Linked DNA regions of Homo sapiens: region 1 is linked to region 2. The links are contacts of gene promoters, found by promoter capture Hi-C in human tissues and cell types (Jung and others, 2019). All regions are on one chromosome and are shown on one strand. The core of a region is centred on a gene start or on the middle of the fragment in contact, and the rest is flanking DNA. Distances in the headings are between cores, read along the strand shown.

Region 1 (4,514 bases), core at 1,493-3,992, 160 kb after region 2:
GAGATATGGGTAAATCCTGTAACTAGTGTCTTTCTGATACTCACTACATGCTAACTAAAATTTTGAAAAAAAAAATGGTAGCACTGCTTTCTCTTTCTCTAAAATGGCAATATAGTACTTTAGCATGAGTGATTTAGGGGTAGAATGATCTAAAAGGGCAGCATAGTATTTTTTAATACAGTGTATTAAAATGTTTAAAGTTTAAAAATAATTTTGATATGGGATTGTATTATTCAGCCCTTTCCCTAGGTATGCGTAAGATAATTCAAGATAGTTGCAGATAGCTGCCATGAAGATCCCCAGGAGATAATAATAAAAAAATCCGGGAGATTTTAATGAAAAATAATGGACATTTAGCTTTTGTCCAGCAGTTGGGAAACCTGTTAAACCTGATGAGTCATCCTGACTCATTCTCTCTCACTCTACCAAATACAAGCAGAGTGCCCATTAAATATTTGGCTTAGTTCACAAAGTTCCATTTTTTTTTAATGGCTGATTTGTCTACTCCAATTATACAGTAGTTAGATAGTATTTCTGGAGTTTAAGAATGAGTTAATTATCAAATCTATAATCAAACTTTTGGTTCCATACTAAATCTGCGGCCTCTTGCAATTAATCCCATTTATCCTCCTTAAAATTAGAAAAGGCTCCTGAGCTGAGATTCTGCCACTGCACTGCAGCCTGGGTGACAGAGTGAGACTCCATCTCAAAAAAAAAAAAAAAAAAAAAAAAAACTCCTGAAATACAATATGGCATTCACTTGAGGACATGGTATGAATTATTAGGAGGGCTATTAGAGTCCTTATTGGGATTCAGTTCTCCCATTACACTATTGTTTATTTATATGATATGAATATTGATGGAAAGGATAGAAGTGATAAATTAGTTTTTGTTCCGTTTAATAATATACAGAGTGATGGCTATGGGAGGCCGAGGCGGGCAGATCACGAGGTCAGGAGATTGAGACCATCCTGGCTAACACGGTGAAACCCTGTCTCTACTAAAAATAAAAAAAGCTGGGTGTGGTGGCGGGCACCTGTAGTCCCAGCTACTCGGGAGGCTGAGGCAGGAGAATCACTTGAACCCGAGAGGCGAAGGTTGCAGTGAGCCGAGATCATGCCACTGCACTCCAGCCTGGGTGACAGAGCGAGACTCCATCTCAATAATAATAATATACATAGTGATTTATGTTGCAGGCATCACGTTGGAGTTACTATTGACCTCCAAATAACAGGTCATTTAAAACCCTTAAAAATGTGTGTGTTTACATATATATATACAAATATATACATAGAGATAAAGGACAGACTTTTAAAAAATGAATTGGAAGAATATGTGCCAAACTCAGGATAATGGCTGTCTCTAGGGATAGAAAGTAGGGGAACAGGACCAAGGTGTGGGGGTTGGAGTGTGAAAGTGCAGTGGTCAAGAAGGAGTTTCTCTTTAATCTTTATTTAATTTTTCAGGTAATTAAAGTAAAATCACATATGTCATCTTTTGAGGTATACAGATAAATAAGATTGAAATACAATGAGGAGAAGAAGGTTCACTGTCTTTGATCCACTAATTCTATATCAGGGAATCTATCCTAAAAGGCTTATGTACAGAGCTATTTAATGTAATGTTAATTATCATATGAAAATGGCAATATTGGAATATTATTTGGTAATAAAAATAAAGTACTGATATATGGTACAACACAGATGAAATTTGAAAACATTATACTCAGTGAAAACTTGATCAGAAAAGACCAGATATTGTATGATTGCACTTGTATAAAATGATCACAACAGGCAAATCCATAGAGGGAGAAAGTTGATTGGTGAGTATCTACTGAGGTGGGGTGAAAGTAGGGGAGGTCTGGGAGAAAACAGGGAATGGCTGCTGATAGGTGTGTGGTTAATTGTTGGGGTAATACAAATTTTCTAAAATTAATTGTGGTAATGGTTGTACAATTCTCTGAATATACTCAAAACTATAGAATTGGCCGGGCGCTGTGGCTCACGCCTGTAATCCCAGTACTCTGGGAGGCCAGGGCGGGTGGATCACCGGAGGTCAGGAGTTTGAGACCAGCCTGACCAATATGAAGAAACCCAATCTCTATTAAAAATATAAAAAATAAGCTGGGCGTGGTGGCACATGCCTGTAATCCCAGCTACTCAGGAGGCTGAGGCAGGAGAATCACTTGAACTCAGGAGGAGGAGGTTGCAATGAGCCGAGATCGTGCCATTGCACTCCAGCCTGGGCAACAAGAGCAAAATTCTGTCTCAAAAAAAAGAAAAGAAAAGAAAATATCAACCAAATATGCACAAAAGGAAAGGAGAAAGAAGTCAAAATGATTACCAAAAACATACACATTTTTTTAAAAACTAAGTATAAAATAAGGCAATAATGAAGCAAATGAAGAGCAAAAGAGCTATAAGACATATAGATAATACATAGCAAAATTGCAGAAATAAGTCATTTCTTATTAACTGTAACTTTAAATGAAGATGGCTTAAACTCTCCAAAAGGCAAACACTGGCAGGATGCAAAAAAAAGTATGATCTAACTATATGATGTCTACAAAATATTTATTTTAGATCCAAAGACAACAATAGATTTAAAGCAAAATGGTAGGAAAAAATTTAATTAGTAACCAAAAGAGAGTTGGGGTGGTTATATTAATATCAGACAAAACAGACTTTAAGTCAAAAACTGTTACAATAAACAAAAGTCTATATTCACAAAAGGGTTGATTCGGTAAGAATATATAATTACTATAAACATATATACAAGCTGGGCACGGTGGCTCAAGCCCGTAATCCCAGCACTTTGGGAGGCCGAGACGGGCAGATCACGAGGTCAGGAGATTGAGACCATCCTGGCTAACACTGTGAAACCCCGTCTCTACTAAAAATACAAAAAATTAGCCGGGCGTGGTGGCGGGCGCCTGTAGTCCCAGCTACTGGGAGGCTGAGGCAGGAGAATGGCATGAACCCGGAAGGCGGAGCTTGCAATGAGCCGAGATCGCGCCACTGCACTCCAGCCTGGGCGACAGAGTGAGACTGTCTCAAAAAAAAGGAAAAGAAAAAAAAAACTTATGGAATACCGTGAAGACAGTGCTCAGAGAGAAATTTATAGTTCTAATTACTACATTATAAAAGAAAGATACAAAATCAATAAGGTAACTGTACACCTTGAGAAAATAGACAAGCAAAATAAACCTAAAGTTAGCAGAAGGAATAAAATAATGAAGATTAGAGTGGAGATAAAATAAAAGACAATAGAAAAATAATAGAATTAATAAAAAGCTATTTCTTTGAAAGTATCAAAATTGACAATCCTTTCCCTAAATTAACGAAGAAAAAAAAGAAATATGAAAATCAGATATTAAAATGGGGACAGTAATACCAATGATTCAGAAATAAAAAGGATTCTAAGAGAATAATAAGAACAATTATATGTCAACAAATTAAATAACCTAGAAGAAATGGACAAATTCCCAGAAACACACAAGTCACCTAAACTAACTGAAAAAGAAAATTTCAGCAGAACTATTATAAGTAGAGTAATTCAGAAAGTATTAAAAAAAGAAAAGAAAAGAAAAGAAAGACACCCTTCAATGAAAATAAGTTCAGGCCCAGATGTCTTTCCTGGTGAATTCTATCAAACATTTAAAGAATTAACACCAGTCTTTCTCAAACTTTTCTAAAACACAAAAAAGGAGAGAACACTTCCTAACTCATTCTATGAGGCCAGCATTTCTGTGATACCAAAGCCAGATAAGGATATCACAAAGAAAAGAAATGTACACACCAATTTCTCTTATGAATATGGTTGCAAAAATCCTCAACAAAATACTAACAAACCAAATCCAACAACACATTAAAAGGATTATACACCACGACCAGGTAGTACTTATTCCAGGAATGCAAAAGTGGTTCAACATAAGAAAATCAATCAATGTAATATGTCACATTAATAGGAAAAAAACCAGGTGATCATCTCAATTGAGACAGAAAAGGCATTTGACAAAAGTCAGCATCGTTTCACCATAAAAACTCTTAGCAAACCAGTAATAGATGGAACATCCTCACCATGATAAAGGGCATCTGTAAAGAAGCCACAGCTATAATCATGGTCAATGGTGAAAGACTGAAAGCTTTCCCCCTGAAATTAGGAACGAGACAAGAATATGTGCTTTCATCACTGCTATTCAACAGTGTGCTGCAAGTTCAATTAGACAAGAAAAAGAAAGAAAAGGCATCCAAGTTGGAAAGGAGGACGTAAAGCTATCTCTATTCACATATGACATATAGCTATATAGAGAAAATCCCAAATAATCTGTGAAAAAGCTACTAGAGCTAATAGATGAATTCAGTAGTTTTAGCTGAATTTAGCTCTTAAGTTTAGGTCTTTGGTCCATTTTTAGTTAATTTTTGTTAGGCCTTTTCTACCTTCATACCAACTTCAGTCTTTTGCATGTGGATATCTACTTTTCCCAATACCACTTGTTAAATGGCTGTCCTTTC
Region 2 (4,736 bases), core at 1-2,500:
TGATGGTCCATTACACACAGACAGTGAGACGTTCCGTAAGAGAGCAGAGAGAACACGGAGGAAGTTTGGAAGGTGCATGTCTGGGTTTGTGTAACAGTACTTATAGCATCACATTTTTATGCATCTGCACCCATACGTGCATGTATTGAAAATAACTGTGTTTCAAAGTGCTTTCTCACTCACTTCCTCATTTTGTACTAAGTGACTCGGGAAACAGGCAGAGGAGGTAAGATGATGTTTTCCAGAGGGGGGAAAGTGTGGCACAGATCTTGTAACTGATCTGCTTAGGTAGGAAACATAAACAGGCGTGAGTGGAACAAGAACACCCTGTCCGTCGCCGCCCACTCCTGCAGCAGAGGAAGTATCTAGAACTGAGGACGCACACTAAGTTCTGTAATCGCATGATACCTGGCAGGTACAATGAAGCCAGGAAGGCACTTCGGATTGAAAAGGGCAAGGACATAGGCAGCATTCTGGAGAGGGAACGTGAGCCAAGGCCATTCCCCCATTTCCGTTTTACCTCCCCAAGTCCTGCCTGAATCATCCCCCATCCTTAGGTCTGCCCAAACCACAACCATCCCTTAGGGTTCACCCCAGATATTTTCAACCCACACTGGTTTTTTTCATTCCATTGATTTCACCCCCACTAATATCCCAGAGAAGGGCAAGTGGCCGTTTCTCTCCTGGACATCATAGCAGGCCCAGCCAGCACACGGCTCGGCTCAGAGCAGGTAGTTAATAAACATGAGCCGAATGAAAGAATTCCTGAGATCGCCACCGCTCAGTAAGGATGCCCTGAGCCCCTACATCCCTCCCCCAACAGAGTGGGCCTGCCTGGCACGGGCGGCCTTAGCAACCCGGAGGAGCTCACTAACAGCAGAGAGCAAGGGGGCGCGTGGGGAGGGCGGGGTGGCCCAAGACGCTGGGCCACTGGGACCCGAGCGCGCGACCCCAGCCGGAATTCGGAGCTAAGGCTGCCGCGCTCCGGCAAAACGCGCTTGATGAGGTCGTTAAAGATTTCCCCCTCTGGAAAATCGCCAGGGAAAAGTGGTGAAAAACGAAGCCGGGAGGGCCCTAGTCTCGGGAGTCTAGGAGGAGCCCAACCCCCGGACCTAATGCCGCAGGGAGAAAAGACAGAGCAGCGAGCGCAAATACCATCCTAGCTCCAATAAAAGGGAACGACTTTTACCGCAGGAAGAACCTAGGCCTGGAAGCCACGCGAGATCTGGGGGTCGGGATCACGTTGCGTTGCCTAGCGACAGCAGGGACGCTCGTGGGACCCCAGGCTAAACCCCGCTGTAGCCTTAAATCTCCTACCATGGAGGAAGAAGGCGGCGGCCGCAGCTGTGGGACCACTAGGGAGCTGCAGAAGCTGAAGCAGCAGGCGATGGAGTACTACCGGGAGAACGACGTTCCGCGCAGGCTGGAAGAGCTGCTCAACTCCACCTTCTACCTCCAGCCTGCCGACGTCTACGGGCACCTGGTAGGGACCTGGGACAAGCGCTCTCCTCCCGCCAACCCCTCTCCCCCCGCCCCGCGCTGCGGCAACGCCTTGCGCCTGCGCCTGCGCCTCAGAATCTCGCATGCCAGCCGCCCGGGCCCTGGGCCTGCGTGTGCGGAGGAGACTTCTGGAGGGAAGGAGCGGGAAGGACACCCAGGGGTGAAGGGATCTCCCCAGAGAAAGTGGCAGAAAGGAGGCAGCTGGAGGAAAGAGGGCGCTAGGCGTATTTGACCTGCAGCGGCAGCCCAGGGGCTGGCAGGCTTCCTCGCTGCCTAAGAGGCCTCTCCGTTTGTGGGCCGGCCCACCGCCCATGCTTGCCAATTGTCATTTTTAACACATACCTTAATGCCCTCAGCTCAGCTCACCGACCTTAAGCAGCTCCTCTTTGATCACAGGATGAACACCTTGGCGTTTGCTACAACTTGGCTTCAGCCTATTCTGGGGCCTCATCCTACTGGCTCCTCTGCCGGGATGCCAGTTAATATCTGACCAGCCCCGCCCTAAACTCCAAAATTCAGACCAAAGCCTTGCCCACGTAGCCCTGGACCAACCGTCCTTCTGGGTTCCTACAGCATTTCCTTCGTGTATTGTAGTCTCTTGAGGCAGCCTCCCTAGGCAGCCTGTGAGCCCCTGCTGGGCTCAGAAGCCTTGTCTTCTCACCTTCCGGGTCTCTGCCCAGCCCTGAGATCTGGCACATACCTTAGCGTTAAGCAGTGAGCAGCTGAAGCAAAGACGTTTTCTCCCTTCCAGATCTATAAGTAGTAAGGAAGGCAGTGTGGCTGGGGCCCCTAGGAGTTTGCACTATGGCAAGGCAAAGCAAGGAGGCAATGTGAACACCAAGCAGAAGGAGTCCTATGAAGAGGCAGATGTGCTGTCAGGGTGCAAAACCACGTCGTATTGAGGCAGTTGATATAAAGGATGTTCCGCGAATGACTTTTTCCCACTCATGGCCTATACTATCAAAGGGGAGAGGTGTGGGGTTTACTGAGCCCCTTGTGCTGCGTACTGTAACTCAATCCTCAGTACCACTGCGACGAGGTAAAAATGATGATTCCCATTTTACAAATAAAGAACCTGTGGCCAGTGCAATTTAAATGATTTTCCCAAAGGACATAGTGACAGAAGAAAAAAAATCAAACCACATTTGTGTCCCTAGTACCCAGCAGAGTGCATGGCACACAGTGGATGCTGAGAAACTACCTGCAGGATGAATGAGTGAATGCTTGACTCTCATTCCATTCTCTTCCTACTATCTGTTGCTAGAGGAATTCTTGAACACAATCTATTCTAACGTCCTCATTTTACAGGGACACCAAGTCTTTGTCTCACAGCTACTTAGTGTACAAGCTAGGACTAAAAACATGGACTCTTGTTCCCCAGTATAATGATCTTCTTATTCTATTAGGCAGCCAGGATATTCGTTTGTACAGCTCTCTGGGAACTTACATCTTAGTTTGGGACAAAAGTCACTAATACATAAAATAATTGGAGCAAAAGATAAGGTGATAGATGACTGTGTGCTAGATTGAGGGGCAGATCCCTATATGCCTATTAAAGGAATTCAGGGATGGAAAAGATCCTTGGAGGCTGTATATCCAGGAAGGCTTTGGCTTGGACTTCGAAGGATGTTCAGGAATTGCAGAGGCAAAAAAGCAAACTCCTTGAACCTGGGAATCGGAGGTTGCAGTGAGCCGAGATTGCACCACTGCACTCCAGCCTCGGCAACAGAGCGAGACTCCGTCTCAAAAAGAAAAACAGAAAAAAGCAATCTCCTTTTCCTTTTCTTAGTAACTGCCCTAGTTTTGGCCGTGCTTACTCTCACCTCGTCTCTCCCTCTATCTAGTTCATCCTGCAGAATGCTGCCAGAGCAGTGTCCTAACATGCAAGTCTGACCACACTTCTCTTCCTCAGAACCTCCTGTGGCTTTCCCGTGCTTGCTGGCCTTCATGTGTGTGGTTCACAGTGCTCAGCCCCTCCCTCTGGTAACAGGCGCATCTCCCACTCCCTGCCCTCCTCCTCTACACCGAATCACTGACTGTTCCCCAAAGCCAGAAGTTTCCTACCTCCCTCCTCTTTGCTTGTCCCATTCTCTCTCCCTGAAATATCTGCTCACCACATCTCCCCCTTGACTGGCACTGAAACACTATACCTCCTCCAGTGTTCAGCTCCAATGTCATTTCTTCTGTCCCTCTCCAACATTGATATGGCTTGGCTCTATCCCCTCCCAAACCTCATCTTGAATTGTACTGCTCATAATCCCCACATATGACATGTGGGGAGGGACCGGGTGGGAGGTAATTAAATTATGGGGGTGGTTACTCTCATGCTGTTCTCGTGATAGTGACTTCTCATGAGAGCTGATGGTTTTATAAGGGGCTTCCCCGCTTCACTTTGCACTTCTCCTTCCCGCCCTCATGTGAAGAAGGATGTGTTTGCTTCTCCCTCCACCATGATTGTAAGTTTCCTGAGGCCTCTGCAGCTGTGCAGAACTGTGAGTCAATTAAACCTCTTTCCTTTATAAATTACCCAGTCTCAGGCAGTCCTTGATAGCAGTGTGAGAACAAACTAAGACAGACATATTAGAGGAATTCACACATGGTAAAGATCCTTGTAGGCAATAACAATACAATTTATTCCATCATCATAAAACTGAATGAGAGAGTTTTGGACTGGGAATGTGGCAGATCTGGTTTTGATTCTTATCTCTGCCACTTCCTCACTGTGATAGAGTTACACTGATGGTCCTCCAAGAAACTACACTTCCAGTGTGAACACCTTTTTGTAAGTCCCTCCCACACTGACTCTGGAATTGGCTATGTCACTTACTTTGATCAATAGGACCTTGACAAACACGATACAAACAGAGAGTTGATCAGTGCTGGCATATGGAAGCTTGTCCTCTTGGAATCTAGTCATCATGCTGTGAGGATGTCCCAATTACCCTACTGGAAAGAGTGAGGTTGTGTAGAGAAAGACCTTGGCAGATACGAGACCCCTCAGGATATCCTGTGAGAAAGATAGATGCCCAGCCAACCCCTCACTGTGCCAGCCATCCCAGCTACGGCACTGGACATTGAGTGAAAACAGCTTGGATATGCTGGCTCCTGTCAAGCCTCCAGATGATTACATCTGCATAAGGGACTCCAGAGAAGCCCAGCAAAAGAATTTCCCAGTTGAAGCCCCACCCAGATTACAGGACCATGAGCAAGTTAATGGTTTAAACCACCAAGGTTTG

The links. The method cuts DNA at HindIII sites, captures the fragments that hold promoters and counts their contacts. A contact is called where the count stands out against the background at its distance.
Region 1: a fragment that was not itself captured here is called in contact with the fragment with the promoter of ENO4 in region 2 in 3 of the 25 tissues and cell types used here (IMR-90 fibroblasts, dorsolateral prefrontal cortex and hippocampus).

What each region holds. Positions count from the first base shown.
Region 1 is chr10:117,006,847-117,011,360 of GRCh38, forward strand. It overlaps a transcript of SHTN1 not described here. Among named protein-coding and RNA genes, the nearest start is that of SHTN1, 3.9 kb to the left of the region's middle. The HindIII fragment of the contact is 7,810 bases long and covers 1-4,514 here.
Region 2 is chr10:116,848,249-116,852,984 of GRCh38, forward strand. It overlaps ENO4 (enolase 4), which reads left to right and starts at 1,251. Exons shown (of 14, transcript NM_001242699.2): 1 at 1,251-1,483. The coding sequence starts at 1,319. It also overlaps a transcript of HSPA12A not described here. RefSeq lists an enhancer at 1-67. The HindIII fragment of the contact is 11,920 bases long and covers 1-4,736 here.